Regions from separate parts of the Homo sapiens genome. Here region 2 is linked to region 1. Evidence: promoter capture Hi-C in 16 types of primary human blood cells and fetal thymus (Javierre and others, 2016). All regions are on one chromosome and are shown on one strand. Each heading gives the region's core, a stretch centred on a gene start or on the middle of the fragment in contact. The rest is flanking DNA. Distances are from core to core; before and after follow the strand shown.

Region 1 (4,198 bases), core at 715-3,214:
AAGCCATGATTGTGGCATTGCACTCCAGGCTGGGCAGTACAGCAAGATCCTGTCTCTAAAAAAAAGGGGAAAAAAAGTAAAAAGAAACAGACATTTAATTTTAATAATAATTTAACGTAATAATTTGAAATATTATTTCAACATGTAGTCAGTATAAATATTTAGGGGATAGGTTATATTCTTTTTTTTAATACTAAGTCTTCAAAACCTAGTATATATTTTACACTTAGAGCATAGCTCAATTCAGACTGGCCACATTTCAAGTGCTTAATAGCCACATGTAGCCAAATGGCTACCAAATTGGACAGTGCAGTTCTGTGGCATTCTGTAAAATACTATGTGACTTGCCAGTACTGCCCGCTAAACATACTACGGTTAATGAAGTGTTTGGTTATCCATTCTCAAAAAAGAAAACAAAGTAGCTTTTAAAATCCAACACAGGTCTGGGCACGGTGGCCCATGCCTGTAATCCTGGCACTTTGGGAGGCTGAGATGGGTGGATCACTTGAGGTCAGGAGTTCAAGACCAGCCTGGCCAACTAAAAATACAAAAAGTACAAAAATAAAACACTCTACTAAAAATACAAAAATTAGCCAGGCATGGTGGTGGGTGCCTGTAATCCCAGCTACTTGGGAGGCTGAGGCAGGAGAATGGCTTGAACCAGGGAGGCGGAGGTTGTAGTGAGCCAAGATCGTGCCATTGGACTCCAGCCTGGGCAACAAGAGCAAAAAACTCCATCAACAATAAATAAATAAATCCAACACAGTAGTTTTACTTGATTTTGCAGTGTTCTATAATTTTTTTGTGTGTGGTGGAGAGAGAGGAGGCTTGAAATGGGGAAAAGGAGCCTAATTATTTTCAGTAGATTTTGTTTTTGTTTGTTATTTTTATTCTCGGAAAATTTAACTTTGCAGGGGATTGAGGTATTCCAGATAATGCCTTAAGGCAGAGGAAGGCAACATGTTGTAGTGCATTCAGAGTTTGCATGTGAATAATCAAATTAATCATGTTTTATTACATTTAACGTATATGTCACTACTGGGCTTAGTATCTGATGGTTTGAAAATTAAAAAGGTGGTAGGGTAGTGACTGACTTTGTGCTTGATATTTTGTCTATCACATATGACTTATTTTCCATAGATAATTCATTTTGGCAGTAAATTTTGTGTTCTAATTATTTTTATTCTTGCAGGCTGCTGAATCAGGAATAATAAAAGTTAAAACAATTGCTGCACGAAACACTGAAATTTTGGCAGGTAATTTTTTGTATTAAAAATTTAATAATAAACAAAAATTTGACTAATAGTAAAAGTAGAATCTTTATTGTAAAAGCCATCAGTTTTCTGTAACATCTCTTCCTCATGCCCTAACATATGCTATTCATAATGAAACAGAATGGGCAAAAGTCCATAACTTATGAACTGACTGTATTTCCCAGAGACGAATGCTACAAAAATTCTCTGAAATCAGAAAGCTTAACACTACTGACTCCTTAAAGGCAAGGAATTTTTTCTTACTCATCTTCGCATTCTCCTCCACTTCCTGCTAATCACCTGAGACACACCATAAAAAGCATTCAGTAATATTTGTTCCATTGTATTGAATGAAAGATTTGTTCTCAGTCCACCTTCTGTGATCTACTTTCTCTTTAATATAATACGAACAGTTCATAACATAGTCTTCTGTATTTAGTTGTACCGTATGAATTTTGAGTCTTGGGATTAAGGCAGTATGATCATGAAAAAAGAATGAGAGTGAAGTAGAGAAAAGAAAACAAAAATGTTTTCTTACCTTCTCTTGATTGAACCTGATTTTCAAGGAGGAATTTTCAGGAGTTTCTCTTTGGCATCCTTCTTTTCTACCCAGTCCACTCCTTTCTCTTCCTTGGTGCCTTTTGTTCTTGCCTCAATAATGAACATGGAAAAGAGGTAAACTGGCTTTTTTTTTTTTTTTTTTTTAAGAATCTGTTATATGCAAGGCACTTGTGTCATTCTATCTTACATAACAACCTTGTGGGGAAATATTATCTTATTTGATAGTAGAGCTAATTGAGATGTGAAGAGGTTAAGTTACTTGCCCAAGGTCACAGGAAAGGTGATAGAACCAGATTAAAATCCAGGAGTGTTCAGGAGCCCATGTTCTTCCTGCTACAGTGTGCTACCATGGTATCACCAGGTTTCCACGTTAGCCACTTACTCCCAAGTATTACATATGTAACCAGTGCTTGCTTCAGTGATCCTTTAATCTGCATTTCCAGTTCCAGTAGTGCTGTTGATCTCAGCTAATCTATGAGGAAAGTAGTCCTATTAAATTAATTTACAGAGTCCAAATAGTAAATAATCTCTTTAACTTTCATATACTTTACATTTTTTAAAAGGGATACCAGTAAATCTGTAACTGGTGGGATTTCAGAGTGTTATGAAATGAAATTAAGATTTTTGGGGTCAGATTAAGGATCGGGGGCAAGAGTGGATTTCACTTAGGCTATCCAGCTTTGCTGGAAATTTGCCCTTAGCATAAGCGCTCCTCAATTACATCTGTTTCCCACAGCTTTTTCCCTGATTTTGAACAGTCTTATCAAAACACCCAATAGTTTTATAACATTATGCACAGAAGTAAATAATGCTCTGTGTGCATATTGAGAAGTGGTATAGTGAAAGTGGTGGGTAAAGGCAGAGGTGCACATGGTAGGGTTAGGAAGGCTGGCAAGTGGGTTTTTTTTGTTTGTCTGTTTGTTTTTCCTGAGATGGACTTTTGCTCTTGTTATCCCAGCTGGAGTGCAATGGTGTGGTCTCGGCTTACTGCAACCTCTGCCTCCTGGGTTCAAGCGATTCTCCTGCCTCAGCCACCCGAGTAGCTGAGATTTCAGGTGCCCAACACCACATCTGGCTAATTTTTGTATTTTTAGTAGAGACAGGGTTTCATCATGTTGGCTAGGCTGGTCTCGAACTCCTGACCTCGGGGTTCTCCCGCCTCGGCCTCTCCAAGTGTTGGGATTACAGGCGTGAGCCACTGCGCCCGGCCAGCATGTGGGTTTTAATGGGAGATGTACATTAGGCAGATTAGCTACTGTGGGGAAATTGGTGTTTAAAGAAAAATGATGACCTGGATATTTTTATGTTGGAGACTTACCATAGGCCAATCGTATTAGAATATCACTGTAAATATTTAAAATATTTACTGTTGCTAATATCATTGTTGATACCGTGGTAAGTCCTTAATTATTCTCCAATAATACAAATTTTTATTGGTTTTATAGTTTGTGGAAGACTTTTTTTAAAAAAAGACTGATTTCCTCAGAGGATCACTGTTATTCCAGCATTCTATCCCAAGTAAAATGTCTAATAAATTACTCTTAAGATGAGTAAGAAAAATTTTGACTTAGTCGGTATGATTTAAATATATAGGCAGGCTGTTAATTTCATTTTAATTCAATTTGCATTATTCAAATCAAGTTAGAACAGATCTGGTGCAAATACAATTAATAGTCATGTTTTAATCTTCGTAGTATCCAGAGCCCATATACTTGAGGAGGTATATTTGCACTTAAACTTTATCCTAGTATTTTTTCTGAAGTATTTAAAGCAATTATACCTAAAAGTTGTAGATTTATAGACCACTATCATCTTGAAAATCAGAGGCTCTTCAAAACAGAGTTTAAATTAGTCAGTATATAGTTTCTAAACTATATAATTAAGAGTACAGTTAATACTGAGAAAAATTTTTAGTTAACTTTTTAAAATTTCATGAGAAGTATTTACTTCTTTATGGTACTTGAGACTATAGGAGACTATACTACTTTTGTGCTCTAATGTATGTCAAAAATACCAAACAATTGAGGAGTCTCAAATGAGATTGGATATTGAAATCTCATATGTCTCTGTATATTCAGAATATATAAAGATTTGTTGTAAGAATGATAACTTTTAATTTGGATCAAGTAGTTTAATTAATGATACTCGGCATAGATTTCTAGTCAACTTTAGTTTTCTTAGATTTATTTTCCAAGGGAATATTATTTATATTTCAGAATAAGTCTTTGCTTTACATCTCCCCTTCTTTTAAGCATCCTCCTTTAATGTTTATTTTTCTTTGTTTTCACTGCTGTCATGAATGCTGACATAAGTGGGAATGCTATGCCAGGTAATGTCAGCATTGATTCAGATGTACAGATCATTATTTCAAAATTTCCATTTTC
Region 2 (4,516 bases), core at 1,835-4,334, 2.7 Mb after region 1:
GAAGCAAGGTTCCTCCACACATGGAGCTTATTATAGTCCAAAAGGATAGGACAATAAATAATTTTGAAAGTAAACAAATATTTATTAATAACTGATAAATAACTATTGGTTGGAAAGGTGCTAAGAAGGAAATAAATAGGATCATGTGTTATGTCTCTGAGAGTCTTAGAATGAAGCAGACAAGCTCTTTCACTTTCAAGTGCTGACGTAGTAAAGTCATTAGGTTTCAAAAAAGGAAAAAAAGATAATATCTTACAATTAACTAATGAATGAACAGCCATTACGCTAGAAGAAAATTGTATTGTGATTGGTGTACTCCGTATCTTCTCAGAATGAGAGAGGTGAGGCTTCTCAAAAAGAGCAGCGAGAGAAAGTCACTTAAAAATTTTTTTTTTTTGGTAGGTCAAGCTAAAGACGAACTGAAAATAGACAACCTGAAGTCAGACGGGAAAGCTGCCAATCTAGTCTGGCCAGCAGAATTTCTTTCAGTAGGTCTAGGCTCCCTCGGCATTGGGAATCCAGATGTAAAGAAAACTTACGCCATAAACTTCAAGGTAGATTTCAGTTATTACTGCCCGGTGGCAGGAACCTAGGAAGGTGAGGTCAAGGTGTGGTTTAGTAAGAGACAGCTCCCGGGAACGGCACTTGGAAGGGCAGGGCGGAGAACAGCTGGAGATGAGATAGAGAGCAGGGGGAGAATGCGCCGACACCTCAAGGTGAGAGAGTAGAAACAGTCTCCGCCGTGGGAGCCGCGCGCTGCTCAGGTGGCTCTTTCCCGCTCAGGTGAGCTCCTCCCGCGCCTCCCATTGGCCGAGATGCCCGCGGCGCTGGGAGGGCGACGCAGCGCGGTCTAGTTCAGGGTCTAGGGCGGCGCGTCACTTCCGGTAGCGCGGAGCTTGTAAAACACCCTGGAGAGAAAATGGCGGCGGCAGCAGCTTCGGCGCCTCAGCAGCTCTCGGATGAGGAGCTTTTCTCTCAGCTCCGCCGTTACGGCCTGTCTCCCGGACCAGTGACGGAGAGCACCCGCCCGGTCTACCTCAAGAAGCTGAAGAAGCTTCGAGAGGAAGAGCAGCAACAGCACCGGTCAGGGGGCCGCGGCAACAAGACGCGGAACAGTAATAACAATAACACGGCAGCCGCCACGGTCGCAGCCGCGGGACCAGCGGCGGCGGCGGCCGCGGGGATGGGGGTCCGGCCGGTCTCGGGCGACCTCTCCTACTTACGGACTCCTGGGGGCCTGTGCCGAATCTCGGCCTCTGGCCCAGAGAGCCTCCTGGGAGGGCCCGGGGGCGCCTCCGCCGCCCCCGCGGCTGGCAGCAAAGTGCTGCTGGGCTTCAGCTCGGACGAGTCGGACGTGGAGGCCAGTCCCCGGGACCAGGCCGGCGGCGGCGGGAGGAAAGACCGGGCTTCGCTCCAGTACCGCGGGCTCAAAGCGCCGCCGGCGCCCCTGGCCGCCAGCGAGGTGACTAACAGCAACTCTGCAGAGCGAAGGAAGCCCCACTCGTGGTGGGGGGCCAGGAGGCCGGCGGGCCCCGAGCTGCAGACCCCGCCGGGGAAAGATGGAGCAGTGGAGGACGAGGAAGGGGAGGGAGAGGACGGTGAGGAGAGGGACCCGGAGACCGAGGAGCCGCTCTGGGCGAGCCGGACCGTGAATGGCAGCCGGCTTGTCCCCTACAGCTGCCGGGAAAACTATTCGGACTCAGAGGAAGAGGACGACGACGACGTGGCCTCCAGCAGACAGGTATTAAAGGACGACTCCCTTTCCCGGCATCGGCCCAGACGAACCCATAGTAAGCCTCTCCCCCCGCTGACTGCTAAATCGGCCGGCGGCAGGCTGGAGACTTCAGTTCAGGGAGGGGGAGGACTCGCGATGAATGACAGGGCGGCGGCTGCCGGGAGTCTAGACAGGAGCCGAAACCTCGAAGAGGCGGCGGCCGCGGAGCAGGGAGGAGGGTGTGATCAAGTGGACTCCAGCCCCGTTCCTAGATACCGTGTTAACGCTAAGAAACTGACCCCTCTCCTGCCCCCGCCACTTACTGACATGGACTCAACCTTGGATTCGTCAACAGGCTCCCTTCTGAAAACCAATAATCATATTGGCGGTGGGGCCTTCAGTGTGGACTCCCCCAGGATTTATTCTAACAGTCTCCCTCCCAGTGCGGCGGTGGCCGCCTCTAGTTCACTCAGGATCAATCACGCCAATCATACGGGCTCCAATCATACCTACCTGAAAAACACATACAACAAACCGAAGCTTTCCGAACCCGAAGAGGAACTTCTCCAGCAATTTAAACGGGAGGAGGTGTCCCCAACAGGGAGTTTCAGTGCCCACTACTTGTCGATGTTTCTCTTAACTGCTGCCTGCTTATTTTTCCTAATACTGGGACTGACTTACCTAGGAATGAGAGGGACAGGAGTATCTGAGGATGGAGAACTCAGCAGTAAGTATTAAATCCTGTGGGTAAGGTAACAAAGAGAATGTTGTTAGTGGTCCGCTTTAGCCGCGCTTAGCGTTTTACATGAAGTGACTTACCTGCAAGAATATGGTTTAACAGCAAAAACGCAACAGTGCGTGCATGTGTCATCTTTCTTAAAGAACACCATTATCGAAATGATGTCATATGGCTGGTTTTAAAAGTTTTCTGCATGATGTATTGTGAAATTCAAAACAATTTTTAAAAGAATATTATAAGCTTGTTAGTAAAACTCATTTGTATATGTGACAATTCTCTTTTAGCCCTGAAAGACTATTTGCGCAGATGCCAGTTACTTAACAAATTTGAAGTATTAGGATAAGGCACATTATAAATGTAGTGTTTTTCCAAATTGAGTTGTGATTCTAATAGGCAATGTAATAGCTCTTGAAATTCGAATTATTTTATAATATTAACTGTATGCATAAATTCGGATTAAATATTTTGTGGTATTAACTGTATGTATAATTTCTTTATAGTGAATGAATATAAAAAAGCAGCAAGGCACACCTCTTAATTTATTTCCCAGCCCAAAGCACTTTCCCTATCATCTGTACAAAAAGTAGTGGTAGGGCAGTGCAGGAGCTTGCAGTCAGATTTCCTTGGATTGGTTTCCAGGTCCTACTATTTACTTGCTAAATGACTGTAGGCAGGTGTGTTCATTGTCATAATCAAAGTATCTCTGCCCTTAAACACAAAAAGAAGATGAATACAGACCATTTTGTGTTCTCTGAAGGAAATAAAGATGAGTAATTGGCGTACACAACTTTATTTTTTTTCCTTTTTTAAAAAAATTTACCAGACTACACTGACGTAGGTGTACACTACTTTAGATTGAACGGAGGAGGTACTATTTGAGGTGAGACCTGAAGCAGAAGGAGACAGCCTTGTGGAGAAACAGTAGACCATTCTGAGCAGAGATTAAGGCCTTGAGTTGAGCAAGAGCCTTCTTGTAGGTTAGAGTGGTTAAGCACCTTGAGCAAAGGGGAGAGAGTCAGAGTTAAAGCTTCTGAACTTTCCTAATCTATAAGATGAGGCCTCTATTGACTAGAATGTTTGTGAAGATTAAAAGAGAAAGTAAATTAGGACAAAATGGACTTCTGAATACATAATTTCTCAGTGTTAGGTCCCTCTCTGCATTCTCCCTGAAGGCTTCCTACTCTTTTCACCCAAGATGAATTCACTGTATTTTTATTTGTATTTATAAAATTGGCTTATTAGTTTTATTTCAAAATAGAGTGAAAGATGCAGTTAGCCAACTCAGATAAAGAGTAGGAGTCAAAATAATGTAAGCTTAGATTTAGATATAGCCAATTCCGAGACAGTCAAATAATAGATTTTTACTCTGTTGCTTAATTACAGGGGTTGAAACAAGAATGAAATTCAGCTCTCACTTTAGTTTATTCCCTGGGAGCATGAGTGTATTGTGTCCTGCCCCAAATATTTGGGAGAAAAAAAATAAGGGCACACTAGAAGTTAAACAAGTAAAAGTTCACATAAATTAAATGACATTACCTATCAGCAGTAGCTATCTGCATCTGTGTCTCTAACAACTATAAGATCTGGCCTTTTTCTTTTCTTTTTTTTTTTTTTTAGACAGAGTCTAGCTCTGTCGCTAGGCTGGAGTGCAGTGGCACAATCTCTGGTCACTGCAACCTCCGCCTCCTGGGTTCAAGTGATTCTCCTGCCTCAGCCTCCCAAGTAGCTGGGACTACATGCGCGTGCCGCCACACCTGGCTAAATTTTTTTTGTATTTTTAGTAGAGACAGGGTTTCACCATGTTAGCAGATCTGGCCATTTTCTAAGAGCTAATTGCTTTACACCTATTGTACCATCTAATCTTCCCAGCAACTCACAGAAGCAGGTGGTGGTATCCTCATTTTTGGATGAGGATGATACTAAGTTAAGAAATGCACTGAGTGTTGAACAGTTAGTAGTAGGGCTAAGATTTGGTTTCAGATTTTATTTCCAACTAGAAAGACCATTTTAACACTGTTTTGGTTATTGTTTGTAGAGAGCTTTCTAAATAAGTGGGTACCTTT

What was found. Contacts are between HindIII fragments. The CHiCAGO score rates a contact against its expected background, and 5 or more counts as called.
Region 2: a fragment that was not itself captured here is called in contact with the fragment with the promoter of MON2-AS1 in region 1 in 1 of 17 cell types (non-activated CD4 T cells); the score reaches 6.0 in non-activated CD4 T cells.

Annotation. Positions count from the first base shown.
Region 1 is chr12:62,482,978-62,487,175 of GRCh38, forward strand. It overlaps MON2-AS1 (MON2 antisense RNA 1), which reads right to left and starts at 1,965. Exons shown (of 2, transcript NR_186172.1): 1 at 1,792-1,965; 2 at 1-55. MON2 (MON2 regulator of endosome-to-Golgi trafficking) reads left to right here. Exons shown (of 35, transcript NM_015026.3): 2 at 1,193-1,256. The HindIII fragment of the contact is 7,471 bases long and covers 1,473-4,198 here.
Region 2 is chr12:65,168,678-65,173,193 of GRCh38, forward strand. LEMD3 (LEM domain containing 3) reads left to right here and starts at 906. Exons shown (of 13, transcript NM_014319.5): 1 at 906-2,441. The coding sequence starts at 920. LOC124902953 (a long non-coding RNA gene) reads right to left here and starts at 739. Exons shown (of 2, transcript XR_007063349.1): 1 at 540-739. RefSeq lists enhancers at 424-483, 669-1,241, 924-1,073, 1,984-2,063 and silencers at 1,194-1,403, 1,787-1,990. The HindIII fragment of the contact is 787 bases long and covers 2,692-3,478 here.